Regions from separate parts of the Homo sapiens genome. Here all the other regions are linked to region 1. Evidence: promoter capture Hi-C in 16 types of primary human blood cells and fetal thymus (Javierre and others, 2016). All regions are on one chromosome and are shown on one strand. The core of a region is centred on a gene start or on the middle of the fragment in contact, and the rest is flanking DNA. Distances in the headings are between cores, read along the strand shown.

Region 1 (4,454 bases), core at 801-3,300:
GCAGAAGTTAACCAATGCACTCATCAAATATAAGTGTGATATTCTAATGAGGTTGCTATTTGAAGTATCCACTTGAGGCCAGGCACAGCGGTTCACACTTGTAATCCCAGCTCTTTGGGAGGCCAAGGAGGGCAGATCACTTGAGGTCAGGAGTTTGAGACCAGCCTGGCCAACATGGTGAAACCCCGTCTCTACTAAAAATACAAAAATTAGCCGGACATGGTGGCACGTGCCTGTAATACCAGCTACTTGGGAGGCTGAGGCACAAGAATCGCTTGAACCCGGGAGGCGGAGGTTGCAGTGAGCTGAGATTGCACCACTGCACTCCAGCCGGGGCAACAGAGTGAGATCCGTCTCAAAAAAGAAAAAAAAAAAAAAAAAAAAGCTGCAGTGACCTGTGATCCCACCGCTGCACAGAGACCCTGCTAAAAAAAAAAAAAGAAAGAAAAAGTATCCACTCTATGCCTCTTCTTTATCTCACCTCAGTTTATGCCAAGGCTATTTTATAGATGAAGAAACTAAGGAAAAGATTTGCCCAAGGTCACACAAGCCTATGCTCTCTTCCCACTGTTCCAAACTGAAGGAACGTGAGAAAAGCAGGTAAAATCAGGAGGGGAGAAGCAGGGAGTGGTGCTCAGGCTTGTAATCCCAGCACTTTGGGAGGTTAAGGCAGGCAGATGGCTTGAGCCCAGAAGTTCGAGACCAGCCTGGGCAACATGGTGAAATCTCGTCTCTACAAAAAGAACACAAAAGATTTGCCGCTAGTGGTGGTGCACGCCCGCAGTCCCAACTGCTCAGGAGGCTGAGGTGGAAGAATCACTTGAACCGGGGAAGTCCAGGCTGCCATAAGCCGTGATCACACCACTGCACTCCAGCCTGGGTGACAGAGTGAGACCCTGTCTCAAAAAAAGTAAATAAATAAAATCAGGACCGAATTTAGGATGTCACCACCAAATCCCACTTTAAAGAGCTCGGTAATACTTCACACTTAAAAAAGGAAAGGTCAGGACAAATAAAAGAATGACCAGCCTTAACTCCGGGGCTGGTAATTTATGGAACTTATTACCTAACGGTGTTGCACAGGCTGAAAATACAACTTTTCTAAGAAAGATGTGAATAATTGCAGTATACCACTCCTACAATGGGTTAATAAGAAAAACAAGAACGTTTGTAGGCATGTGGGTCTCTATTATCCTCAAGGTTAACTTCAAGGAGGAAAACCGCACCCGCTGATACAGTGTTTCTAGGAGCTCGACGAGAAAAGGCAAACTGCGAGCCTTCTCGGGACGCCCTGTTCCCACCACAGCCCTTCACACAATGCGTCTAACAGCATTTAAGGAACACCCGCCACGCCAACGATCCTGCTGGAACCGCCCAGTTCAGGGAACAGGGGACGACTGACCAGAAGGCAACCGCCCCCAACCTGAGCAAAGAGCGCTGGAAACCTATTCCCCCCTCCCCCTACACCCCCCCGCCCCCCGCTCCACTACGGGACCCTCGGCTCGAATTCTTTTAGTGCAGGACCACCTTAGGACTCAGCCTCCCTAAGGAGAGGAAAAGTGGGGGAGGGAAGGGGACTCTGGAGGAGCAAAAGCAAGAGGCCTGGGGGCGACTGGGGTGGGGCGTCTCCTAGAGCGAGGATTGCTGCAGAGTGCGCGTGCACGCCCGCACATCCACACCCACGGCTACACATCATATCTGCACACGCACAAAACCACACACCCTCCCACGCCGGTCCCATATCCTTTCTGCGGGGTGAGCAGCAGATTCCCGGAAAGGGGGAAATGTAGCCGCAAAAGCAAAGCCGGGGGCCTGGCGCCCACTCTGGCGGCGACTACAGCCCCCACGCTGGGCACACTGCGAGCTGGGGGTGCCCGGCGCGGGAGAAGCCGCGCCCAGCCGGGCTGGTAGCCCAGCGGGGGGCGCGGCAGGGCGAGGAGCAGCCCGCGCTGCTCCCGCCCCTCGGGTGCCAGCACCGCCCCTGCTGCGGCGGGTGAGGGGCGGGGCGGGGCGCGGCGTATATAAGGCTAGGGGCGGGCGCCGCTCTTTTGTTTCTTGCTGCAGCAACGCGAGTGGGAGCACCAGGATCTCGGGCTCGGAACGAGACTGCACGGTGAGTGCGGCGCCGGGGCGGGGGGCCCACCCAGGGTGTGGTCGGATCCGGTGCACCGGGCGGGCGCGCCGCAACCGCGACAGGCGCCCTTCTCGGACCGGACGCAGGGGCCGGCGACCACGCCCTGGGACCGAGAAGAGGGGTGCGGGACGCGCCCAGATCCTCGGCCTTGGGGCTGCTCGGCACGCCTTGGCGCGAGTGCCACGTCGAGAGGCGTCGGCGGGGAGCGCGGAAGGGGACGCTGGCCCCCAGGCCCAGGTCAAGCGCCTTGGTTTGCCCACTAGGATTGTTTTAAGAAAATGGCAGACAAACCAGACATGGGGGAAATCGCCAGCTTCGATAAGGCCAAGCTGAAGAAAACGGAGACGCAGGAGAAGAACACCCTGCCGACCAAAGAGAGTGAGTGTGCCTCGGTCTCCCGCGCCCCAGCCCAGCCCCTCACCCTGCTCTTCCTTGCAAACCCACTCCTCCACCCCCCACCCCGCCGTTGTCCCCGGTGTGGGCGGCCCCGGCCACTCTTTCAGTTTCACAAAGCGCCTTGTTTCTCCCCAGCCCCAAGCTTCCTTCTAAATCCCCACACCTCGTGGGTGCCTCGCCCACACCGGGAAGCACCTCGGTTGCGGGTGGGGGTTGCAGCTCCCCTCCAGCGCCCGCTTCCCGCTCTCCACAGCCATTGAGCAGGAGAAGCGGAGTGAAATTTCCTAAGATCCTGGAGGATTTCCTACCCCCGTCCTCTTCGAGACCCCAGTCGTGATGTGGAGGAAGAGCCACCTGCAAGATGGACACGAGCCACAAGCTGCACTGTGAACCTGGGCACTCCGCGCCGATGCCACCGGCCTGTGGGTCTCTGAAGGGACCCCCCCCCAATCGGACTGCCAAATTCTCCGGTTTGCCCCGGGATATTATAGAAAATTATTTGTATGAATAATGAAAATAAAACACACCTCGTGGCATGGCTGGCGTGGTCTGAGTCTTTTAGTTGAGTATGCGTGGGCAGTGCCACTGCAGCAAAGCCCCTCGATGGAGTAGAGTTCCTGCCGCAAAGGGGAGGAGGTGGGTCGCAGAATGGGCTGACTCGGAGGGAGTTTTTAATTTTGGCTTTACCTGCTTCTCCGTAAGATTTCATGACTTGTTAGCCACTTAACTCTTGCTCGTAAGCAATCTGTGTAAAATTTAACCCCACTTTGTCCCCAGGTTGCGTTGGAAAATGCTTTTTCAAAAGAGCAAGGTTTGCTTTTGATAAGCTTCGAAAGCCCCACTGTTTCCCTCTGGCCTCCTCCTAGCTGACTCAGAAGGGAACACTGATTTTAAAGAAAGAAAAGACAATCTGGAATGTTGGAAATTGGGTGAGGTCACAAAGTCTCCGGAAGCCTTTCTTCGGGAGCTTAAAACAAAGGCGGGATCTAGGGATACAGCAACGGGAACGTCAGAACTAGAAGAACCAACACTAGAACTGGGGGAGGGGAGGGGGGAAGAGCTTTTGTCTTTTAACCCTAGTTCAGAACCTCCCACAAAAACATTAGCCATTAGAGGAAGTGCTAGACTGATCTGCTACCACCCAGTGCTCAGCAGGAAGGGTGGGGATGTGGTGGGAGGGAGGAAGGGTGGGCTGGCGCTGGCGCTGGCGGCCAAGCTCCAAGGGATGACACCTCAAACCCACAGGGAAGGAATAGGACCAGCCCAAGGGGGCCTGACAGTTGGGAACCTGGGGCTGCAGGCCATTCAGAAGCAGAAGAAACAGGCTTATAAAGACAGGGGTGGAGTTTTCTTTAAGGAAGGTGGATAGGACACTGCTTAGAGATTCGTCCCACATTTTTGCCCGGCCCCAAGAGGCTGGGCACTGGGTGAAGACAGTTAATTCGAATAAGATACGGTCCCTGTCCACGAGGAATTTAAAATCTGGTGAGTGAGATAGCCACAGCAGACCAGAGTCAGGACACCTAGGCTTGGCAGGGAGACTCATGCCCAAAGGCATTCTCTCTGAACTCCTATCTGCACCTCCCTCCTGGTACCTGGACACATACATCACCTCCCCCATTAGAGTAAATAGAGAGACTTTTTTTTTTTTTTTTTTTTTGAGACGGAGTTTCGCTCTTGTCTCCCAGACTGGACTGCAATGGTGCGATCTCGGCTCACTGCCTCCGCCTCCCGGGTACAAGCGATTTTCCTGCCTCAGCCTCCCCAGTAGCTGGGATTACAGGCATGAGCCACCACGCCTGGCTAACTTTTTGGTTGTTGTTTTTTTTTTTTTTTTTTTTTTTGAAATGGAGTTTCGCTCTTGTTGCCCAGGCTGGAGTGCAATGGTGCAATCTCAGCTCACCACAACTTCCACACCTCCGCC
Region 2 (4,963 bases), core at 762-3,261, 180 kb before region 1:
GCCCGGCCGAGTGCTTCTTGCTACTAATTCTTAAGCCTTTGAGGAGGATTATTTTTATAAATCGGGTGAGTTCGTGGCTATCCACTTTTGCCAGTGTAGGAATCCATTTTTCTGGGTCTGCTAAGTCATTGCCACCCTTCTGTCTGCTTTCGAGCTCCCAAAATTCGTTGATATTTCCTCGCCCATTCTTCCTATCTTTATTGGTTTACTCTGCATTTTTAAGCCTTTTCCTACAATTTTATTGTAGTTTCAGTAGGAAGTGAAGGTAGATACACATGTGATGACTGCCATCTTTATCTATAAGCTGGTTTATTTGTTTTGCAAGGAGTTGCTTTGGAGTCATCCTTTCTATACAGCAGGGATCAAACTGATCCTTGGCTGTGTTTCCTGCCACTTCTTGGCTACAGTTTATACTCCTCTCAGCTCTTAGAATCCTTACATAAAAATATGTCTCATATTCTCTAAACGCGGCTGAAACCTCAAGCCTGTAGGGCATAATGTCTACAAGTAGTTGCCAAACTCAACGGAAGCATATAGTATTCTAATATTCTTTGGCAAGGAGATGAAAACAATCCACTTTCCTTCTCTTTAGCCCTGGTTTCTACATTATCAGTGCCTTGTGCTCCCTAAGACATAAAGAATTATTTGTTAGTGGGCCTACATGATCCACCAACTGATCCCATATCAACTTTTTTTTTCTACTTGGATTTGAAAGCTTTAGTTGAGTCCCATATTAACATAGGGGTTTCCTACTCAACTCTGCCCTTTATTTCCCCTTCAGCTCCCTAAGGGGTTATTACAGGGAGAGTTTGATCTCTGATTCCTGGAAACAGCTTCTGCACTGAATCCTTCCCCTCCCTTTCCTGGTGGGCTGGGGTAAATAGTCTAGACTTATACTCTTTATTATGGTAGGTAGCCACTAGCCATAGGTGGCTGTTGAGCACTTCAAATATGGCTAGCCTGAATTAAGATGTATTGGTAGTGTAAAATACACAACAGATTTCAAGGGCTAAATCCAAAGAAACAAAATATCTCAGTAACTTTTATGTGGATTATATGTTGATATAATATTTTGGGTAGATTAAAAATATACTATTAAAATTTCTTTTTATCTTTAATAAATTTAGAAAATGTATGATTATTTATGTGGCTCACATTATATTTCCATTGGAAAGCACTGGTCTATACAGGAACTTGATGATTCCTTTTAGCTTTGATGGAGCAAATACTGAGCAGTCAGTTCCCTTGGTGATTTTTCATGGTCCCTGCTCTAGACCCTTTGACTTTCTAGAGAGAAAAGGATTTCCCAACCCAGGGATATCCACCTCTGAAAAACAGTGGGGGAAGAGAGAGGAGGCAGGGGCAGACAGCAGTAGAAAGAGAGAGACTGAGAGACATAGAGAAGGGAATCTTGGAAGGCCCATTGGCCAGAGGGCTCCCCAGACCCACAAACCCAAAATGCAGAAAACCAAAAGACCTTGAAAGCATCGCTAACTCATTTGGGGTTATAATCCTCCACAAACAACAGCTTCTATCCCATATGTCTATACCTGGGAATACTAGGTAAAGAACAAGAATATTAGTCACCCTTGTTATTCCAGGGAGGGATGTGGTGCCACTGCCTCCCAGCCACTCTCTACTCCCTTCTTTTGGGCATCTTCCTGGGTATCCCTTCTCCTTTCATTCCTTTATTCATTGTGCTTGCCCTGGACTGCTCACAAAGAAGTTCGGGAGCAATTAGGAGTGCTGTGATGGTGTTTGCATTGCAGGAGTAATTCAGATTGAGTCTCAGAGACATGCTGCTTCTATGTTTTCAAAGCTACTTGTATTGCCTGCTGCCCTCTGCCTATTCCTAACTCTGGAAGGAAGAAAGGTCAGCTTATTCAGAAGGTCACTGAGCCCTGAGACTCAGTCGTTCCACCTGGGGACCCCTTATTATAATCACCAACTCATTCTATCCTTATTTCTTCCCTAGACCTAACTGGATACATTCCAGAAGTCCCACTATTTTTCTGGAACAGATCCCTAAGAACTTGTTATTGTATGTTTATTCAGATCACTTCTGGTGCCATTAAAACCAGGCTGGAAGAAGCAGAGTCCACTGAGCAGATGATCAATGTGGCTCGTGAGAAGTATCGTCCAGTGGCCACTCAAGGCTCTGTAATGTACTTTGTCATTGCAAGCCTCTCAGAAATAGATCCTATGTACCAGTACTCATTAAAATACTTTAAACAGGTAAGTGTGTTCATGTTGTTAATGACAGTCATCTCTTTGGCCTCCATTACACCTGTTGAATTACTTCTTGCTTCACATAAGCCATAAGTCTAGTTATCAGGTAAAATCTCCCAGGTGCATGCAAGGTTCAAGAGTGGTTCCAGCCAGGCATGGTGGCTCACACCTGTAATCCCAGCACTTTGGGAGGCCGAGGTGGGTGGATCACCTGAGGTCAGGAGTTCAAGACCACCCTGGCCAACATGGAGAAACCCCATCTCTACTAAAAATACAAAAATTAGCCAGGCGTGGTGGCAGGTGCCTGTAATCCCAGCTACTCGGGAGGCTGGGGCAGGAGAATTGCTTAAACCCAGGAGGTGGATGTTTCAATGAGCCAAGATCGTGCCACTGCACTCCAGCCTGGGCGACAGAGCGAGACTCTGTCTCAAAAAAAATAAAAAATAAAAAAGAGTGGTTTCACCAGCCCTTCCAAAGATGCAGTTTTTAGAGTAGAGTTAGTGATTATTATATATATATATAAAAGGTATATATAAAATTTGAATTTTTTTTAAAGATTTGATTGCCCAGTATGCACAGAACACTCTGTAGAGGAAGAGAAGAAAGCTCCTTTGCAAGTTTCATTTGCTCCTGACTTCCTCAACTAGCTAGCATGTTTGTTTTCCTTCATGCCTGCCCTTCTCTCTTTTTTAAGAGTCACAGCTGAGTCCCATTTCTTTAGACATCCTCTGCAGTAATCTAGATTCCTTTCCACTATTAGTGTTTTCTGTTGTATCTCAAGTCCAAACAGCACTGACCTTAACCAAATTGGTTTATGTATCTTTTATTTCCCAAACCTTTTATGCAACAACCTGTTCTTCCTTCCCTGCGCCCACTTCTGACTTAGAGGGATCTCTTTCCTTTGTTTCTGTCCCACTTTCACCATGTGACTATGAGACTCTCTTGTTTTATTTCAGCCTCTCTTCTTTATCTCATATTCACAGTTGAATTTCATCTGCTGTCTCATGAGTAGGATGTTTTCACCCCTTATCCTCTTTGTAGCAGCATTCATTTTTTCTCAAAAGCAAATTCAATGCCACAAAGCTTCAGCAGGCAATGCCAATTTTGCTAAAGACTTCCAGGGAAGACAGAGAGTTTGCATTACTCACTATACAGCAAGACTACCAAGCATCTGCATCAGAGGTTCTCTCAGGTGCCAGTGGCCTCTTCTCAGCCCACCCGACCAAAGCCTCCCTGGCTCAGTCTTCCCATCAGCTCCTACTTCCTGTTGGCAGTGCTGTCTCCTTTTCTGGGCAGAGCAGTTTAACTTACTCTCACTTTTCTGTTCATCCATGCTTATACCCTACCCATGACACAACTCAGCCAACGAAGGCCTCTCCCTCCATACATGCCACTCAGTAGAAAACAGTGGAGAATTGTAAACATAACACTTTTTCCCTGCAACACATCTCTATTTCCTGTTATATGCCCCTGTATAGTCAATGCTGGCTCACACACCTGGAAGCCAGGCCAGCCTAGTCCTAGTGTTTTCAAAACACTGTTCCACAGACCTAGGTCCTAAATGAATTTTCACAGATATTGCCCATCAACACAATTCATACTCTATAGCCTGGAATTCAAAGCCAAATCCAGCCTGTCCCTGTTTCATCTCTCCAGTCACATTTCTCTCAACTCCTGTGCAACAGCCAAATTGATCCACTTACATTCCCAAGACTAACTGGATGCTTTTGTGTTTCTGACACTCCCTCTGTTTAAAATGGCCTTCCTCCCAACCTAAATGCTGCTGGGACTGCATTCTAAATTCTCCTAAATTCTCCAGCAAAGCCTGCTGCTGGGACTGCAAACATCTAGAGGCTGACTGGAATGAACATCCAAAATGGCTGACTCACATGGCTGGGCTGTCACTCATGGCACCTGCCATGGCCTCTCCTTGTGGCGTGGGCTTCTCACTACAGGGCAACTGGGTTCCAAGAGGGCCTCTCCCCAAAGTAAACGTTCAAAGAAACCAAGATGGAAGCTCCAGGACTTCTTCTGACCTAACCTTGGATTTCATGCACCATCAATTCGGCTACAGTCTGTTGGTCAATCAAATCACTAGGATAGTCCAGGTTTGAGAGAAGGGGATTTAGACTCCACCTCTCAATGGGAGTAGTAGCAAACAGGTTCAGCAGTCTTTATCCAAAATATTTGATATGCTTCATCTGGCATAATGTTACCCCACGTTGTCTTGGGTGGTTGGCTTCTCTCTCCTGCTGGAGCCTGAACTCCCAGGAGGCAAAAATGAAGCCTCACCAATCCCATATCCCCAATGGTGCTTAGCACCACATAATGCTCGAGTGTTTCATGAATGAAGAGTCTGTTTTGATCTCTGCATATAACATTCCAACAATTCTTATTGAACTTCAGATAGTCAAACAATTCTTATGACAGCTTGATTTTTCCTCTAGAGGTCTTATTTAGTACCCTCGATAATGGTTGGAGGTCCAGGAACAGTTTCTATTTCCAGGAAAGAATGGAAATGAGGAATTGAAAGAAATGGGAGTCAAGTTGTTTAGATAGGCCTGGGTTGTCTTTCAACAAGATGTTCATTTTAGCAGCCTTTGAAAGCCATCTGTGCTGGGTTCAAACCTCAATTCCTAGAGGCAAGGGTTTGGGTTCTTATATCTCTGCTCCCTTCCTTCAGTTGACAGGTATTAACCCAAGCAAAATAAGGATTACCAAATCCTGTAATGCC
Region 3 (5,046 bases), core at 268-2,767, 230 kb before region 1:
TGTCGATTTTAACTTAGGCAACAGGAGGAAAAGAAAGCATATTTGTTCCAAGGCTCCCACAATCAAAGTGGTGTCTTGTGTTTCTAAGGAGTCCATCTATCCGTCTCTTTCCTGAGCAGGAAGCAGGTAAATATGGACTCCTGGAGAGTAGCTGGCAGGCATTTGCATCACTGCCTTCTGTATCTGTTGGTCTCAGAGAGTTCTAGAAATGCAGAAAGATTGTGCAGACAAAACCCCTACCTTTAGAGAAGGCTGCATCTTAGGTCCCTGCCACTTAGCACTCCACACACAGTTCTTGGCAGATCTCATCACTACCCAGCCCCTGCCTTTGTGCTCATCTTATCCCTAACCACCAGGTCTGCGTGTCCACTTGCCACCAAACTTGGCACCTGATATGCCAGAGAGCTCAAGCTCAACACACCTAAAACAGAACTCATCTCCTTGGCCACTCTCGCTAAGAATGATAACCTATCTTTTGTCCATCTGTACTCACTTCCCTAATAGGCTACTTCCCCATCCTTTATATGGGAAAAATAATAACACCTGCCCTACAAGTGCTCAACAGATTGAGAGGCATTATTTTGAGTAGAACAGTAAGAGAATATGAAGCAGCATGACTAAAGCCCCGCATAACCAACCTGCAAAGGTTGCTTAGAGAAGAGAGATTGTGAGCTGAGTCTTGGGGATGCTGGGAATTGACAGGGAGGAACAGATCTTAGGAACAGGAAGTGCTGGGTGAACGCAACTGCAGAGGCAGGAAATGGTAAGGTGGGCACAAAGGTAGAATAAGACAGTTCAGGTGACTGGCCTGGAGAAGCTGATGACAGTGACGTGGACAGTGATGCCCAAGGATGTGGCAATTAAGTGAACCTCCACATTCACCAGCATCAACTTCTTCCAGTAGAAGCCCTCTCTCAAGAGGGACAGACCCCGCATGTATACAACCTTCAGTACATGGAAAGGAATTTTCTGTTTGTATTGAAATAGCTTATTTCTGTGGGAAATTATTTTTAATAAATTGAAGTAGTTCCAATAAGCTGTTTAGGAGCTAATGCCAAAATGGTATATAAAAACTGCCACATTTTGAAAAACTTTCGGAGAGTGCTTTAGAAAATAGGAAAAGATGGGAGCTTCACTCCTATAATTAAGCACCAGAGTATAAAACAAGACATAACAGCAACCACCAAAGCCATTAGAAGGGTTGTCTAAGGCCTGCACACTTTTTTGAGAACTTTTATATTTATATTTTGAAGTTTGAAGTGAGTGATTCCCAACCACACCACAGATACACTGTGATGTGGTGAGTGGTGAGGGGTGTCTCAAGAAACTTATGCCTGGTTAGAAGAGACTGAATTTGCAATTTATTTCATTTTTTATTAAGTTAAAGCAAATTCAGGTTTATGACTACAAAAACATCGTTCTTCATCATTCCAAAATGGAATGATTTCCATTTTGTGGGTGGGAAGAATACAGTGAAGCCTGGGCCACTGGGAAAGACATGGTCCCCAACTCTCAACCTCCTGTGGGATTATCATGTCCATGGAAATGTGTCACCCATGGGAACATCATCCAGCAAGCACATCATAGCTAAAAACTGGCTGTGATAAGGCTGCTTCTTCCCACTGTAACTTTACAGGTTTACATTTAAAACCCACACTAGCTATAAGGGGAAATAGAAATGATATGTGGCAAAACTGAGAGATTCTGGGGGCTACCAGGTTGGACTGAATTCAGGTGGGAAAGAATATTGCTCTCATTACAACGGACAGGGTATTTTGCCTGTAGGAAAAAAGAACTTGCTCTAGGCCCATGGATCTCAAACTTCATTTTTCATCACATCCCACCTTAGCAGGACCCAAGAATTCATCACCCGTCTGTCCTGTCCTTCATTACTGTTTGGAGGAAAAAGAACTTGGATATAATCAAGAATTGAAGAAGAGCAAAATCAATAAAGTAAATTTATTTTTAGCAACATATATAAATAGATTTATTTCTACTGTATAAAAGAAGCCTATGAGTCTAAATAGTACATGTATATTATATATAATGTTTTCAATAACCTATTAGTGTTAACACGATTAGTCCTATCATTGTACTTTCTTTGATAGTCTGTTGCAAATTAGTTAAATAGTGCATATATGCAGGGAGCGCACCACTAATGCCCAGACACGATTTGCACCGTTGGAATATGTACATTATAAGTGACTCTTTCTCAGACCATAGTTCATACAAACCTGAATGTTTACTTACTGGAAATTTATGTGCCAAAATATGCATCACTATACATTCTAAGGGTAAACCGAACAGCACACAACCAGGTAAATTAAATTTAATGAAATTTCTAGTTAGAAAGCTATAACGCAGTAACTGAAAACCGTGATCAGCTCCATAAACTAGTGATAATGTGCTTATGCCAAAGAATCCTCCCAAAACTAAGAAACCTGGCTGCATCTTGCGTGCATGTTCTTAGTAAGAGTTTTGCAAAGTTGCCAAACAGATCATGTAAGCCAGATCCTTAAGTAGAATACTAGGCTGTGGTCCTCAGTAAATTCTATAATGATACGCTAATTTTAATGTATGGATACCAGTTTAGTAGCCTTTAATTCATTCATTAAACAAATATTTGTTGAGCACCTTCCATACGCCTGATATTGGTGTATCATCCCTGTCCTCATGGATCTTCTTCCATGGACACAGATAATGAAGAGATGAATGAGATATCTAGATATAGACACACAGTTACTCATGTATATGTTAGAAACTATTTGTATTTGTGTCATGGAGAACAGAAGGCTGGAGCTTTTTACATACATATAACATATATATAAATAAAATTATCAGCTTGTCTATTCTCCATCATACACATACAAATGGACAGATTTTCATCAAATTTAAAGATTGGGTTTGAGATGGTCCTACATAAAATACAGACCATGTGGAGTATGTTAAACTCATGTTGGGGTCCCAGGAGGGGATACCTAAAGAGGTCATCCTCACAAGTTAAAGCAAATGTTAAACAGGAGACCCACTGAAAACAAATACTCAGGTTTATTTCAAAAGATCTCATATATGACACCAAATCTGAAGTCACAACTTCAGATTAGACTAACTTGCAACCATTGATATGCATTCTCGTGGCTTCTCCCATTAGTTACTCCAGGGTTAATGGTAATAAGAATTTATCTATTTAAAAAACAATAATGATTTTTCCAAGCACTTGCGGGTCAAGGACTAGCTAATAAATACACATGTTCAAGTTGTGATGTTATGGATGAGAAGATCAAAGAGACTGATGGGAGGACTTGTTTTAGACTGAGTGGTCAGGAAAGGCCTCTCTGGAGAGACGGCATGTAACCTAAAACATGAAGGATGAAAGGGCACCTGCCAAGCAGAGAGGGCTGGGCACAGGAAGAGGGGAGCAGCAGTGCAGGGGCCTGAGGTGGGAAGGAGTGTGGGTGTTCAGACTAGTGTGGCGGGGACATGGGGAGCAATGGAAGGGAGGGGTGAAGTGAGGATGCTGGGGGAAGGGTGGACCAGCAGGGAGACCAGAATGGAAATGGAGAGGCCAGAGTGAAGGAGAGAGAGGAGAAGTCCAGATAAAAAAGAGTAGGGGCCAGGATGGGGTGATGTCCGGGGAAACAGAGGGAAGCAAACAGATCCAAGAAATGTGTTCAAGATTGATTTTGCAGGACAGAAAATGGGAGGTGTATAAAGAGACTTCCAAGCTCCTGATCTAAGCTTAGGAGGGAATGGCCAGCTACTGAGATGGGGAAGCTGAAGTGTGAGGGAGTTCACCATTGCAAGTAAGTCGCATTTAAAATATACATGAAGATGAAAGTCTATGAGAGTGGTGGTCATTCATCCATAAAAGTGAGAGAGAGGGTTTCTGTTCATTTCCAGGTGGGTTTGTGCCCTTCGTGATGACCCCTTGGACTCACCTCAAGCAGAGGTCTAAATTACTTGAGAGTGTGTTCATGTAAATTCACTAGTCAGATATGAATGCCACTCAGGCATCACAAAACAATCACAGAAGACAGGAGTGAGCGCATTCTCAAGAATGTTTTCTGAAATGAGCAGAAGAGCTTTGATACCAGAAGACTTTGTGTTGGAATTTGGCTTTCTATTATTAGAAAACGTTATCATCCGGAGTATTTAAAAGATAGATATTTGGTTTAAAATAAATCTAATCCTCTCATATTATGTTTCTGGTTCTAGGCCATCTTAAATGGTTTCCTGAGTGACTTTCCACCAGCTGTAAAGCAAACTGCATCAAGCATTGTAGAAGCCTCAGTTGAGATTTATAACAAAATGAGTGTTGACCTCCTGCCAACACCCGCCAAGTCCCATTATGTCTTTAACTTGAGGGACTTATCCAAATGTGTGCAAGGTAGTGTACTGAACCCTCGTTTTCTGATCTGCACCCTCCCTACTTTTCCATTGGCCCCCAAATATCTCAGTAACATTGTATGTATGCAGGTGTTGGTGACTCACCCAGAAATCCCATCACCTGTTCCTATTCAGGCTGAGTGCTTCACAACTATTTCACATGGCCAACACTGCCTCCCATTTCTCACTCCCAGCTGATTACTTGTCTTTCACTGAAAAAAAAAAAAAAATAGAAGCAGTTGGACCAGAGCTGCCTCATCTTCTAAATCTCCCAGACAACTTGCATCTTCCTTCCCTGGGCTGAGCTCCCCCTCCATCTGTCAGTGTCAATGCTCCTTCTAATACCGAACCCAGTCCCCTCCTGTCTACTCAAGGATTTTGCTATCATAATTCCCACTTCTCATCTTCAAAGTTTCTTTTTTTATTGGATCATGCCTAATGGCATAAAAAGCCACTATCATACCTCCCATCTTAAAAAAAAATAATTTTCTTTAAGACCCATATCCCCTGATGGTACCCCTCCCATTTCTCTGCTCTTTCTAGAAAGACCTCTTAAAGAATGGTCTCTCCTCCCTGTCTCACTTACTCCCTCAAGTTCTCCCTTTACTATACGTCAATCAAAGTTGTGATACCCAACACTGTGCTCAACTGCTCTACCTG
Region 4 (4,953 bases), core at 2,009-4,508, 210 kb before region 1:
CCGGGCGTGGTGGCTCATGCCTGTAATCCCAGTACTTTGGGAGGCCAAGGCAGGCGAATCATGAGATCAGGAGATCGAGACCATCCTGGCTAAGACGGTGAAACCCCGTCTCTACTAAAAATACAAAAAATTAGCCGGGCATGGTGGCAGCCACCTGTAGTCCCAGCTACTCTGGAGGCTGAGGCAGGCGTGAACCCAGGAGGCGGAGGTTGCAGCGAGCCGAGATCACACCACTGCATTCCAGCCTGGGCAACAGAGCAAGACTCTATCTCAAAAAAAAAAAAAAAATTCCTGTTAACATGAATCAGAAACTTTCTAAAATTTTGTTGGTATCCTGCAGTAAATCCATTTCAAAGTGTTCTGTTGGTCTCTCCTTCTGCACTGTGGTGTCTTTTTCTAGGTTCAGTGATTTTTCTGCTTGCTCATTCTTATAAATGGAAACCTGGGCTTAGCAATTGACAATATAAGTTGTGGCCTAGATCGGCTAGGGTCTCCAACAAAGTCCTTCAGACTTCAGGAAAAAGAGATTTTACTTTATTCTAAATTTGTACGACTAGGGCCGAGACCCAACAGCCTGTTAGGAATGGGGGAAAGAATGAAAAAGAGAAAAGCCCAGCAGTGCTGTTCACCAAACCCTGGCCTCAGATGCAGCCTGCTCTTCCCTTGCAGCATCCTGCCCAGGGAGGAGGCTCCACTGGCCACCAGCCTTTGGCTCTGGGGCAGGCTCTCTGAGCAGGAGCCATGTCTGTGAACTTGAAATAAACCCTCTGCTCTGATGTTTGCAGGATTGCTCGGATGATACGTCAAGAAAGAGGCAATGCCCTGCTTGTTGGAGTAGGAGGCACAGGAAAGCAGTCACTCACGAGACTTGCAGCTCATATATGCGGTTACAAATGTTTGCAGATTGAACTCAGCCGGGGATATAATTATGATAGTTTTCATGAAGACCTGAGGAAGTTGTACAAAATGGCTGGTGTAGAAGACAAGAATATGGTTTTCCTTTTCACTGACACCCAGGTGTGTGTTTAAATAGCCCATGGGTGAGAACAGGAAATGTATGGGTGTTACAATCGGGTGTGTGCTTTGAACAGTTTGTAGGATGAAGTTCAAGGGGATTGTTCCCTTTGATAACAGATTTCCTGCAGCTTGTAAAAGACTTTTATAATACATTTTTATTTATTTTACCAAGTATTGTTTCCCTCTTTAAATTCTTAGTAATTAAATTTGATCAAAGGTCGAGGAGGTAAGTTTTTAACTTTTCTTTGAGGGAAAAGGCAAAGATAACAGAAGGTAATAAACTATAAAAGTGCATATAAGAAAATAATTTACCAAAAATTCAATTAGGGAAACATGACTTTACCTACAGAAAGGAAAAAGTAAGGGCTATCTTTTGGGTTAAATTACCTTTAAAATTGAAGTAGGATTACATCTATATCTACAACAGCTAAATTAACTGATCTTGAATTAATTCTATAGCAGAGGACTTTCTACATTGATTATTCTTGGGTATTTTTTCTTTAGAGAAAATAAACCCATCTAGAAATTAGCCAACGAATAAAAAAGTGATAGATTTGATGCATAAATGTTTTAAATATTGTAAGCAGAATTAAATACAAAGAAAAAATTGGAAAAATATTTTTAGTATCTATGACATGCAATGAGTTTATATCTTATTATAAAAATACTTATCACAAATGAAAAAGGAAAAGTCAAGCACATCTATAGAAGAAATAGAAAAAATGTGATAGAATGTGAATACACAGTTCCAGAAAACAAAGGGCTTTAAACACCTGAAGAAATTTTCAACCTCACCATTAATGAAGGAAATTGTAATAAATAAAAATGCGAGTGACTTGGCCTTGCAAGTTGATAATGGTAAAAAATCATAATATACAGAGTTGGCAGAGGTGTGGGAATAATAGGCCTGTTTATTCTTCACTGGGAGATTATAAATTAGCAAAATCTTTCTGGAAGGTAGTTGGCAATATGTAGGTAAAGCCTTTACATTTCTTTTACGTTATACTCAAAGCTATGTACAAAGTTGCATGTATAAGAATATCTATTGTAATGTTTTTAAATAATAATCTGAGAGAGTATTAATGTCCAGTGAGAGAAAGTCATATACATAATATCTGATATAACCATATACTAGAGCACTGTGTAAAAACTGTAAAATTATATTTTAGAAGCATCCACATTTTAATGTATATCTAGACATGTATGCCCTGTGTACAAAGAGAAAACATTTGAATCTTGGGATTGTGAGTGATTTTTATTGTCTAGTTGCTTATCTGTAGTTTCTGATTATCCTAAAATTAAGATATTTCTGATAGTGCTTTTAACATTGCTTTTAAAAATCAAACAAGTTATGTAAAAAGTCTCCAAGTATTAAAGCTCCAAAGATCAAGTCATATTGTGTTGCTTCTCTTTAGACAAAAAGTTACTACATTCTGTTGGAAGCCCCAATCAATCTCAAATGTTCTACAATAATGAAGAGTAAACGTAACCATAAAAATAAAAATGCATGTGTCTATACATGAACTTATATATACACAAAACATTATAAATGTGAGAAGAAATTGAGAGAAACAAGATGTTAAAAATAGAGTTTAATTGGCTGTAACTTAACAAATACAAAGTAGAAATAACTATGATTAGATATTTTACATAATATAATTTCTAAGCTACAATTAATAGCTATATACTATATTTCATATTTTACAGAGAAAGCAAATATTTTCTAATACTACTGAATGTTTACAAAAATTAATCATATACTAGATTTAAAGAAATTTTTATTAAATTGTTAAAAGCATAAGCTGTACTCGTAACATTCTTTGCCCATGCTTTAATTAAGGGAGAAATTAATGATGTGTCTTAGGACTTTAAAACATTCATATAAAGATCAAGAAAGTCAAAATCTCTTAGAGACTAAGAAAAATGAACTTAATATAAATAAAAATCTATGGAATGCAACCCAGCAGTTCTCAAATTTACATTTGTAGATTTGAATCAAAAATTAGAAACTACACAAATTAGTTTACTTAAAACTTTAGGAGGGAACAAATGTCACAAGACACATAAGAAAATGGAACAAGATAAAGCAAAAATAAATTAGAACACAGAAAACTAGTGTTTGCTCTTGGGGAAAATTGACAGACACAATTATACCAAGTTCATTAAGAAAAACAAAAAGTTTCAAATGAAGAAAACAAAATAACAGATATCTTGTCATAGTTAAATATATAGTACTCAAACTTTTATATAACTAAAAAGTTAACTGAAATAAAGGGTAAACGAGAGATTGCTTTTAAATATTTGCATCAATGTTGAAAGACAAAAAGTCTATTTCAAAATATGTAAATTACTCATGCAAATTTGAAAGAAAACTCCAAGATGCAGGTGGTTGCAAAGTTTAGACTGACTTTTTAATGGACAATAATAAATGTGGGATAATATTTTCCCTTGCTAATAATCAAAAACATCCAAAATAAATTCTCCAAAAGAAAGCATTTATTATATCTCCCAAATTAACAAAAATAAATGTTAAAAATTGATGAAGTCACACTTGAATTGAATGAGAAATAGTAAAATCTTCAAAATCCAGAAAATATTTGTGCATTTAATTGGTAATCTCACTCCTGGGAATTTGTTTCAAGAAAATAATCCAACTAAGGGGAAAAGATATATGCCTAAAATTGTTCTTATAATGTAAACAAGACTGTAAACTATCTCTGTCCGTGCAAATGTATGGTGCATCAGCTCAATGGTGCATTCTGCTTCTATATTTTTGATAAATATGATGAGTACATTACAGAACTATGGGTTAGTATTAATGATAAAATGGTAACTGAAAGGGGCAGAATATAAAATACTTGCACATATGACTTGACCAAGGTAAAATGGGAATGCCTGCTAAGAAACAAAACACAAAGGAAAAATGAAAAATCAGTGTACTTGCTATGTTAGAACTTCAGGGTTCCATGAAATTTTTAAGATTATCTTCTCTTAAAGATGAAATTGATTCATGTGAATTTTAGAATAAATATTTGCTTTATAATAAATGGAAAATGATTGAGCAAGTTGTAATGATCACTGCTTTCTTCTACAGATTGTAGTGGAGGAGTTCCTAGAAGATATAAATAACATCCTGAACTCAGGTGAAGTGCCTAATTTATTTGAAAAGGATGAACTGGAGCAGGTTTTAGCGGCCACCAGACCAAGAGCAAAAGAAGTAGGAATTTCTGAGGGGAACAGAGACGAGGTAGGATGTGCCAGAGTAGTTATGTGGCTTTATCACAAAAACGTTTCTTCACCTTTTATTTAACCATTCATTGATTGCCTGAAGGGGTCCATGAATAAAATTTTTTTCAATATAATTGGTTTCCTTTGTATTCGATGTATTTTATTTTCGGTGTTTAAAGCATTGGGTCACCAGACTTCCAGAAAGTTCTGTGGGAAGCAGAAAACAGAAATCCCATTGCCCCACAGAGGTCATAGTCTTGTCCAAACTGGCCAGCCTCTCTTATTCCTCTTTAAGCACCAGTTTATTTCACACACTGCAGCACCCTACCTGTGGCGGGCTGAAGGCATAGGTCCAGCATTGTTGATGCCCTTGCCTAGCAGCAATGTTATGACACAACAAAGCAGGAATGTGTTTTCTCTCACTCTCTCGGGAACAGTGTGGCTGCTGTACACTTCCATTCTCCAGCACCATGCTAGATCCCATACACCACTACTTGTTCACCCCAGCTTTTTTCCTTGTTTTTGCACCTTCTTTAAGTTTCTGGCTGTTCTTTCTTATATCTTTACTGTTTCCCTTTGTGAGAATTGTCTCTCCTGCTAGGTCGGAGATTATAGGTACAGATGCAAGTCTACTTCTGCTAATGTAAGCAGGAAGGGATTTATTAAAGGGACACAGAATCATTGGAAGGGCCAAAGAAAGAAATTCCA
Region 5 (4,710 bases), core at 1,137-3,636, 250 kb before region 1:
TCATCTTATTTTTCTGAATAGCCACATACAGTTAATGAGTATATGTAAGTGATTTTAGGAAAAGTTGAGCTATAAATATAATTTTTAAACAAAATTTTAAAATAATTTTAAATTTTTAAGTGAGATATTTTATAATTTTTTTAATAATTAAAAATAAGTTCATCACCTTCTATATGTTTGGTACTATGCCATGTACTGTGGGAAATACAGAAAGAAACATAAGAGATATCACTTACTCCCAAGAAGCTCCTAATATACTTAGGAACATTGGTCTACTGTACAGGAAACAAACAAAATCATACATGATATCAGAGAAATGATAGATTCTGGTACAGCACATAGGACAAACTAATACTGTACATGTCAGAAGAGAAAGATCAATGAGAAACAATAAGACTCATAATATTTCATTGATTGTAACAAATACGGGAAAATATCAATGACCAGTTGTTCCTAATTGATTTTATTTTTGTTTTGACAGTGGAATCATATCTGACCTTTTTCCTGGAGTCCAAATTCCAGAACATGATTATGGTATTTTACAATCAACAATTGTGGATGTCATGAATAGACAAAATCTTCAGCCTGAGATGTGTATGGTTAGAAAGGTGATACAGTTTTATGAAACTATGCTAGTAAGGCATGGTGTTATGTTAGTCGGGCCAACAGGAGGCGGCAAGACCACAGTTTACCGAATACTAGCAGAAACTTTAGGGAATTTACAAAAACTTGGGATAGAAAATTCCTTTTACCAAGCAGTTAAAACATATGTTCTCAACCCTAAATCAATTACCATGGGTGAATTATATGGAGAGGTTAATAACTTAACCTTGGAATGGAAAGATGGTTTGATGGCACTAAGTGTCCGAGCAGCTGTGAATGATACTTCAGAAGACCATAAATGGATCATCAGTGATGGGCCAGTAGATGCTCTTTGGATTGAAAACATGAATACAGTGCTGGATGATAACAAGATGCTTTGCCTGGCTAACAGTGAGAGGATTAAACTCACACCTCAAATTCACATGCTTTTTGAGGTAAGTGTACACATTACTGTGGAGTGAAATCATTCATTAAATTGGCATACTATCGTTACATTTTTTTCTCACACTGATGTAGCCTTTACTATCTATAATGTCTATTATTGTGTTCTGTTTACTTACTTATTAAGTCATCCTTTTGTAATAGATTGACAGTCAAAGTCTCAAATGTTCTTGTCTCTATAAATAGGAAGTACAATAAACTCTGGCTTCCCTGAGAGAGGGAGAGAGAGAAAGAGAGAGAGAGAGAGAAAGAAAGAGGAGAGAGAGAGAGAGCTTTGTATCATTTGAAATGCATTTTAAATTAAAAATTATTGCATTTAATAAGAATAAATTATCCCACCATGATATGAATATTTGATGAGGGATTGGGAGAGGAATGTGGACCAAGTACAGCTACCAACATTATGAAGGATGCCACCTGTGTTCTATTCATTCATCAAATACTGATTGAATGTCTAGTATGTGCTAGGGATTCTAATACAAGAATGAACAGGAGAAAAGAGAAAAGCAAAGAGAAGAAAGAAAAAAATAACTAGCCCTGCCCATAGAGTTTGACAGTATCCTCCTGTAGTTGTGGGAATTTTTTTCACCTTATACGTCATTTAACTTTCTTCCTCCATTTCTAATTACTTATTGCTCTCCCACTCTCTTCCACATGAAGCCCTTCAGTGTTGTTAGACTTTAAAAGTGTGAATCATTTTATAAGTGTGAACATTGAAGTTGGAGAAATAAGGAAGTATCATATTAGCTGTTTCCTGTTCAATTTTCTTCAACTTTAGGTGCAAGATCTGCGGGTTGCCTCCCCTGCAACAGTCAGTCGATGTGGAATGGTGTTTGTGGATCCTGAAGAACTGAAATGGATGCCTTATGTTAAAACTTGGATGAAGGGTATTTCTAAAAAAGTAAGTGCCATCAGATATTCCCCAATATCTCCATCTGTCAGGACTCATGTTGCCTTCTAGTGCACAAATAACAATAGGTTAAGGACTCATGGTTCTTGATTGAGGGGACTTCATTATTTTACCTAGTCCTCCCTGTGAATTCCTGGAATCGTCCAGGAATGTTTATATACTCCCCAAATCTGTCCTCATTTCTTGTTACCCCAGCCTGCCAGCCTGCCTACTCACCCTGCCTCCTGCCTATTCTGCCTGGCTTCTCCCCAGACTAGAAACACAAGCCACTTTTTTGAGTCCCTAAAAACACAGCTACAACAGCCTGAGGCATTGAGACTTCGCAGAAAGCTTGGGAGTAATAAAAGGAAGCAAAATGAAGAAAAAGAATATTTAAGTCCAGACCCTAACTGTCATTGTTTTTGGATTTTGAGAGCCCTTAACACCTATGACAGCCAAAGATAAAAGAAAACTCATTTACATCCTACCCCAATAGTAGGTGCAAGACCTAAGACACATTCTAACCTCAGAGGTACAATTCCACCCAAAGTGAAGGAAAGCTTATACATTGTTATTCAAAACAACTCAGTTTCATACTACTTTCTGTAGCTTCTGCATTCTAACACAGAATTTTCCTCTTTAGCTTAGCTTAACAAGTAGTCCTTTGAGATGTTTCCCCCACATCTCATCCCCTACTCCAAGTAAGCCATCTTCATCTCTGCCTCTCCCCCTCCAAAGATGAGCCAGAAAACTATTGTTTTCCTCCTTTTTAGGCATCAACAGTTTTAAGAATATTATGGTCTAGTCTCAGAGTACCTTATTAAAGACAGTAATTCTCAGAATTGAGAGTTTGTCATTGGCTACCTTAAGATTTTTAACTTTTCTGAATTCACTTTTTTAAAAATTAACAGACATTTTTGTGCTTAGGGCAGTTTTAAGTTTATAGAAAAATTGAACAGAAATGAGAGTTCCCATGCACTCCCTCACCCCCAAACAGTTTCGCCTATTATTAACACTTTGCATAAATGGTGAACCACTATTGATACATTATTATTTTACATTAGAGTTCACTCTTTGTGTGCAATTCATGGGTTTTGAAAAATGCATAATGTCACGTTTCCACCATTATAGTATCAGGCAGAATAGTTTCATTGCTCTAAAATTCCTCTAAGCTCTACATATTCATCCCTACTCCCCATCCTTTAACCCCTGCAACCACTGATCTTTTTACTATCTCTGTAGTTCTACCTTTTCTAGAATGTTATACAGTTGAAATCATATAGTACATAGCCTTTTCAGACTGGCTTTTTTTCACTTGGTAATATTCATTTAAGATACTTCCATGTCTTTCTGTGGGTTGGTAGCTTATTTCTTTTTAGCATTGGATAATATTTTTTGTATGAATGTACCACAGTTCATGTACCAATTCACCTACTGAAGGACATCTTGGTTTTGGCAATTATGAATTAAACTCTTAATAAGCATTAATGTGCAGGTTTTTGTGTGGACATAGTTTTCACCATATTTGGGTAAATACCTAGGAATGTGGTTGCTGAATTATTTAGTATATGTTTAGCTTTGTAAGAAACTGTCAAGACTGTCTTCTAATGTGGCTGTATCATTTTGCATTCCCACCAATAATGAATGAGAATTCCTGTTGTTCACATCCTTGCCAGCATTTGGCATTGTCAGTGTTTTGGATTTTATGCATTCTAATGGGCACGTAGTAGTATATTGTTTTAATTTGCAATTTCTAATGACAAATGGTTTGAGCATCTTTTCATATGTTTGTTTGCTATCTATGTATCGTATTTCATGAGGTGCCTATTAAGGAAGGTCTTTGGCCCATTTTGAAATTGGGTTGTTTGTTTTCTTATTGTTGAATTTTAAGAGTTCTTTATATATTTTGAATTCAATTCTTTATCAGATTATATCTTTTGCAAATATTTTCTCCTAGTCTATGGCTTGTCTTTTTATTTTCTTAACAATACTCCGGTTTCTCTTCAGATTGTATAAATATTTCATCTTCTATTCTCTTAACAGTGTGTTTCACAGAGTAGAAGTTAATTTTAATGAAATTCAACTTACCAGTTTTTTCCCTCATGGATGGTGCCTTTGGTGTCATACCTAAAAAGTCATCACCAAGCCCAAAGTCATGTAGATTTTCTCCTGTTATCTTCTAAAAACTGTATATTTTTTGCTTTACATTTATAATCCATTTTCAGTTAATTTTTAGGAAGGGTATAAGGTCTGTGTCTAGATTTGTTTTTTTGCATGTGTATATCCAGTTGTTCCAGCACCATTTTTTGAAAAGACTGTCCTTTCTCCATCAGATTGCCTTTGCTTTTTCGTTAAAAATCAATTGACTGTACTTATGCAGGTCTATTTCTGTGCTCTCCATTCTGTTCCATTGATCTACTTGTCCATTCTTTCAACAATAACCCACTGTCTTGATTACTGCAGCTGTATAGTAAGTCTTGAAGTTGGGTAGTGTCAGTTTTTCAACTTTGTTCTTTTTTGTTGTGTTGGTTATTCTGGGTTTTTTGCCTTTCCATATAAACTTTAGAATCAGTTTGTCAATTAATCCACAAAGTAACTTGCTGGAATTTTAACTGAGATTGTGTTGAATTTATAGATAACATCAGAGAAATTGACATCTTAAGACTATTTAGTCTTCCTATCCATGAATGTGGTATTTCTCTCCATTTATTTAGTAGTTCTTTAGCTTCTTTCATCAGAGTATTATAGCTTGTCTTATATAGATCTAGTACATATTT
Region 6 (4,936 bases), core at 279-2,778, 170 kb before region 1:
AGAAGATGCTCAGTATGATATTGATATTTTTGTGTTTATTGAGACTTGCTTTATGACCAAGCATGTGGTCAATTTTAGAGTATGTTCCATATGCAGATAAGAAGAATGGGTATCTTGTGGTTGTTAGGGAGAGTATTCTGTAGATGTCTATTAGGTCCAAATGGTCATGTCGAATTTATGTCCAGAATTGGTCAATTTTCTGCCTCAGTGATCTATCAAATGCTATCAATGGGGTGTTGTGTGTTGTGTGACTATTGTTGTGTACTGCCAAAGTCTTTCATTAAGCCTAGATGTGCTTGTTTTATAAGTCTGGGTACTCCAATGTTGGATACACATATATCTAGGACACTTAAGATGTTTTGTTGAATTGAGCCCCTTATCATTATTTAATGCCCTTCTTTGTCCTTTTTTATTTTTGTTGGTTTAAATTCTGATATAAGAACAGTAACCCTTGCTTTTTTTTGTTTTCCGTTGCGTGACATATCTTTCTCCATCCCTTTACTTTGAGCCTATAGGTGTCATAACATGTGAGATTGGGTCTCTTGATGATAGAAGAAGAATGGGTCTTGTTTTTTCATTCAATTTGATACTCTATGTATTTTAAGTTGAGCATTTAGGCCATTTATGTTCAGTGTTAAAATTGATATATGAGGTTTTGTTGCTGTCATAATGTTGTTAGCTTAGTTGCTTTGTAGTCTTTATTGTATAGTTGCTTTATGGGTACTGTGGGCTATGTGCTTTCATGTGCTTTCATGGTAACAAGCATTATTCTTTTGTTTCCACATTGAGAACTCCCTTAAGCATGCATTGTAGGGCCAGTCTGGTGGTGGAAAATTCCCTTGGTGATTACTTGTTTGGGAAACACTTTATTTCTCCTTCATTTATGAAGCTTAGCATGGAAGGATATGAAATTCTTGGCTGACATTTATTATCTTTAAGAATACTAAAAATAGGCCCCAGTTTCTTCTGACTTGTAAGGTTTGTGCTGAAAAGTCTGTTTTTAGTCTTATAGGTTTCCCTTTATAAGCAACATGACCCTTTTCTCTAGGTGCCTTTAAAGTTCTCTTTCACGTGGACTTGGGTTAGTCCTATCCCTCCTATCCATCCCCAAGTGTGTCTTGGGAATTGTCATCTTGTGTAGCATCTTACAGAAGTTCTCTGGATTTCTTGTATTTGCATGTCGACCTCTCTAGCAAGATTGGGGAAATTTTCCTGAATTATATCCTCAAATATGTTTTCCAAGTTGCTTATTCTCTCTTCTTCTCTCTCATGAATGCCAGTAAGTCATAGGTTTGGTCACTTTACATAATCCCATATTTCTCAAAGGCTTTGTTCATTTTTTAAATTCTTTTTTACTTTTGTCTGACTGGGTCATTTTGACAGATTGGTCTTCAAGTTCTGAAAGTCTTTCTTTTGCCTGGTCTAGTCTGTTGTTAAGGCTTCCATTTGTATTTTGAATTTCCTGATGCGAATTTTTCAATTCCAGGACTTCTGTTGGTTTTGTTCTTAATATAGCTATGTTGTCTTTCATATCTTCTGTTCTGTTCTTAATATAGCTATGTTGTCTTTCATATCTTGGATCATTTTTCTGGCTTCTTTGTGTGGGATTTCAACTTTCTCCTGGATCTCATTGAGTTTCTTTGCATCATATTCTGAATTCTATATCTGTCATTTCAGACATTTCATTCTGGTTAGGATCCATTGCTTGGGAGCTAGTGGGATCCTTTGGAGGTGATGAAACACTCTGTCTTTTTGTATTGCTGGGGTTCTGCACTGGTTACTCCTCATCTGAGAGAGCTGATACTTCTCTTTTTTTTTTTTTTAATTTGGTATCACTTGGTTGGGGCTTCTTGTTTATTCGTTTTTCCCTTGGGGGTATGACTGTGATGTATATTGTGTATGATTAATTGGCTTCATTTCTAGGTGCTTTCAGAGTGCCAACTCTCTGTACAGGTTCCTTGGTTGCAAGTAGGTTCATGCAGTGACTTTCTCAGAGGTTGTTTGTTGTAGCAATGTAATTTTATTTGGTGGCGTAATTCAGGATGCAGTCTAGTAGATGGTGCTTAAGAGTAAGAACTGATGGGTACAAGCAGGGGTGGAAGCACTAGAGAAGTACAAAAAGCACCTCTGCAGAGCACATTCACCCTCAGTAGGGCAGAGCTGCTGGAGAAGCTTGAGACACAGACTCTTTCAACCCGCATTCCCCAGACTCCAAAGTGAAGAGTCACTTCCAAATCCATGACAGGGCACTGAGAAGAAGGGTGGCGGAGCAAGTGTGACCCCCTCTCCATGTCCATTCCCAGGCTTTGGTGGTACCACCTTCAGTGGCTGGCACTGCACCCATGTTTTCTTTTATCCAAGGGGGTCTTTGGTGGGCTGCACTCTCCCCTCCTTTAGGGACAGTCTGCAGCAAGGGTTAGATCTCCAGGGGAGTGGAGTCTGCCTCCCTCCCACGCCTCAGAGCTGGTGGGGCACTGTTCCCCAACTGACCAAGGAAACAGGCTGGGACACCCCGTTATGACCCATGCAGACCAGTTCTAGGTTGCAAAGCTGTCTCTGACTGAAAGTCTTGCCCTCTGGGAAAAACCTCAGCTTCAGCAACTCTCCTCCCACTCCAGTCTTGTGATGGGAGAGAGCGTAATTCCACCACCTACTACTGGGGCACTCTCCACACTCACTGCTCAATTCTGCCTGTGGGGACCCTTCTCCCCTTCCAGAACAAGCACTTTAATCTCACCTAAGACCAAAATGCTTGCTGTGGCCACCGCTGCCAGGTTACCAAACAATGGCTCTAACCTCTCAAAATGGTGTCAGCCATGGGCTTGCACCTAGAGAGTGGGGAGCCCCTCTCAGGCGAGCAGCATGGACGAGAAGCTGTGAGGAGTGTGGTCCACTCAAGTCTCAGTCTCATAGCAGCTCGTAGCAAGGCATTGGACATTGTCCTAGGTATATATAGGAGAGCCTTGGTCCCCTTTCCCTGCTTGGCTGGGTGGCAGCAGCAGTCACATCAGCCCAAACTCAGGCCAAGGATGAGGCACAGCTCAGCACTACATTCTCAAAATGGTGCCTTGGGCCTGAAAACAGGGAGGGCGGATCACTGCCCAGGCAGGCAGCATGATCAAGAAGCTGTGGGGAGTGTGGTTCATTCACATCTGTCTCACAGCAGCCTGCTACAGAGCTGTGAGTATTGTCCTAGGTATGAGTAGGATGACCTGGTCTCCCTGTTCTTCCTTAGCCAAGCAGAGGCTACAGCCACATCAGCCCAAACTAAACAAAGCATGGAGCTCAGCCCAGCATTAAACTCTCAAAAGGGCACCTTGGGCCTGGGGCTAAAGAGGGTGGGGCACCATTCAGGCAAGCAGCATAAGCAGGAAGCTGTGAGAAGTGTGGTCAACTCATATCTCAGTCTCAACAGCAGCTCATAGCAGGGCAGCAAGTACCCTCTAGGGGGTGCATGAGTGTGCCCGTTCTCCCCTCTCCCTCCCTGGAGCAGCACAGTGGCTGCAGCTGTGTCTGTAAATCCCCAGGATCTGGGTTCTCAAAATGGCACCCAGCTGAGGCTGCACCAGGCTCGGATTCCTGTGGGATTGTGTGTGGGTTCCCTTTCTAGAGAAATGTCTCTGTACAATCTTTAGGCAGTTCCATATGTCAGGCACAAGGCCCTAGTGGGTCAAGGGTTTCTCCTGTAGCCAAGATCTTAAAACCCTGTTTTGGAGCTCCAGGGATTTCCCTCTTACTGTTTCCCTGCATCCAGGACCATCTCCCAGCCCAGTCAGTTCCTGGCTGCGCAAGCTAACTTGAACCCTCTCCTTACTTACTTCTGGTACTTCATGTCTCTTCTCTAATGAATCCAAGCATTCTCTCCTAGATTACCTGTTTGAACTGTGAGTATCTGCTTACTATTCTGGCTCTTCTCCATGGAGGCAGCACGCAATACCTGCATCTAGTCAGCCATCCTGACCTAAAACCTCAAAATACATCTTCTAATATTAATATTATTACAGCAAGCCTCTCTTAGTACTCCCACTCTATATATTTCTGCACTCTTTACTTTCCATTTTTTGTGTGTCATCATTATGTTTTTGGTGTATCTTAGTAGGATTTTGTTGTTGTTTTGAGGAACATGAAAGTCTTTCTTTTAACAGACAAATTTTAATTTGATTATATTTATTATGGCTATTGATTTATTTAAGTTCTTCTTGACTGAGGAAGATTTCCATTTGACAATGTCTAGAGACATTTTTGTTTGCCACAACTGGGGTGGTGCTACTGGCGTCTGGTGGGTAGAGACCAGAGATGCTACTACACATCCTACAGTGCTCAGAACAACCCTCCACAACAAATAACTACAGCATCCAAAATGTCAATATTAGTAAAGTTAAGAAACTCTGATCTGTTTGGACTTACATTGGTCATCTTTATTTTGGGCATATTTTTCTGCCAGCTTTTTCTTTGCTTCCTTTTTTCTTCTTTCTTCTTCCTTCTTCCTTTCTTTATATCCTTTATTTCTCCTCTCCTTCCTTTCTTCTTCAGTTGCATCATCCACACTCTTTATTTTCCCCTCTACTGATTTGAAATTCTATTTTTATTTTTTGGTAATTACTCTTATACTTCTAATATGAATATTTATTTAACTAAGTAAACCCATTAAGTGTGGTGGTTTAAAGTCTACATTAACCAGAATTTCTAAGATCCTAATAGATTTATTGGATTTCTAAATGAAGACTAGGGGGAGAAAAAGCTGTTCAATAAATGCATTAACTTATTGAAAAGTGCATTCCCCCCTAGTCTTTTGTCCCCCACTAGTAAAAATTGTTTCTATGTTATGCACCAGTTAAATGAGACAGCTAGAGGTAGAGATAGAACACAAAAAGAAAAATACTCATAGAAGAAACCCAGAGATGGACAGTTAGGGACAGACCCAAAGCAGAAAGGG

The links. Contacts are between HindIII fragments. The CHiCAGO score rates a contact against its expected background, and 5 or more counts as called.
Region 2: a contact is called between a fragment that was not itself captured here and the fragment with the promoter of TMSB10 in region 1, in 1 of 17 cell types (non-activated CD4 T cells). The highest score is 5.1, in non-activated CD4 T cells.
Region 3: a fragment that was not itself captured here is called in contact with the fragment with the promoter of TMSB10 in region 1 in 1 of 17 cell types (non-activated CD4 T cells); the score reaches 5.4 in non-activated CD4 T cells.
Region 4: a fragment that was not itself captured here is called in contact with the fragment with the promoter of TMSB10 in region 1 in 1 of 17 cell types (non-activated CD4 T cells); the score reaches 5.8 in non-activated CD4 T cells.
Region 5: a contact is called between a fragment that was not itself captured here and the fragment with the promoter of TMSB10 in region 1, in 6 of 17 cell types (non-activated CD4 T cells, naive CD4 T cells, naive CD8 T cells and 3 more). The highest score is 14.0, in non-activated CD4 T cells.
Region 6: a fragment that was not itself captured here is called in contact with the fragment with the promoter of TMSB10 in region 1 in 1 of 17 cell types (non-activated CD4 T cells); the score reaches 7.9 in non-activated CD4 T cells.

What each region holds. Positions count from the first base shown.
Region 1 is chr2:84,903,606-84,908,059 of GRCh38, forward strand. TMSB10 (thymosin beta 10) reads left to right here and starts at 2,051. Exons shown (of 3, transcript NM_021103.4): 1 at 2,051-2,113; 2 at 2,398-2,512; 3 at 2,784-3,066. The coding sequence starts at 2,413. The coding sequence ends at 2,818. It overlaps LOC105374836 (a long non-coding RNA gene), which reads right to left and starts at 3,416. Exons shown (of 2, transcript XR_940308.3): 1 at 3,058-3,416. RefSeq lists a silencer at 1,808-2,347 and enhancers at 2,314-3,513, 3,318-3,377. The HindIII fragment of the contact is 2,703 bases long and covers 1-2,670 here.
Region 2 is chr2:84,720,570-84,725,532 of GRCh38, forward strand. It overlaps DNAH6 (dynein axonemal heavy chain 6), which reads left to right. Exons shown (of 77, transcript NM_001370.2): 60 at 2,056-2,235. Among named protein-coding and RNA genes, the nearest start is that of TRABD2A, 160 kb to the right of the region's middle. The HindIII fragment of the contact is 2,597 bases long and covers 714-3,310 here.
Region 3 is chr2:84,677,142-84,682,187 of GRCh38, forward strand. It overlaps DNAH6 (dynein axonemal heavy chain 6), which reads left to right. Exons shown (of 77, transcript NM_001370.2): 42 at 4,216-4,387. Among named protein-coding and RNA genes, the nearest start is that of DNAH6, 160 kb to the left of the region's middle. The HindIII fragment of the contact is 4,438 bases long and covers 1-3,736 here.
Region 4 is chr2:84,693,464-84,698,416 of GRCh38, forward strand. It overlaps DNAH6 (dynein axonemal heavy chain 6), which reads left to right. Exons shown (of 77, transcript NM_001370.2): 46 at 786-1,017; 47 at 4,112-4,264. Among named protein-coding and RNA genes, the nearest start is that of DNAH6, 180 kb to the left of the region's middle. The HindIII fragment of the contact is 8,907 bases long and covers 1-4,953 here.
Region 5 is chr2:84,652,838-84,657,547 of GRCh38, forward strand. DNAH6 (dynein axonemal heavy chain 6) reads left to right here. Exons shown (of 77, transcript NM_001370.2): 34 at 482-1,037; 35 at 1,823-1,945. Among named protein-coding and RNA genes, the nearest start is that of DNAH6, 140 kb to the left of the region's middle. The HindIII fragment of the contact is 209 bases long and covers 2,283-2,491 here.
Region 6 is chr2:84,738,206-84,743,141 of GRCh38, forward strand. The region is part of intron 62 of DNAH6 (dynein axonemal heavy chain 6); the gene reads left to right. Among named protein-coding and RNA genes, the nearest start is that of TRABD2A, 140 kb to the right of the region's middle. RefSeq lists an enhancer at 3,308-3,357. The HindIII fragment of the contact is 1,283 bases long and covers 888-2,170 here.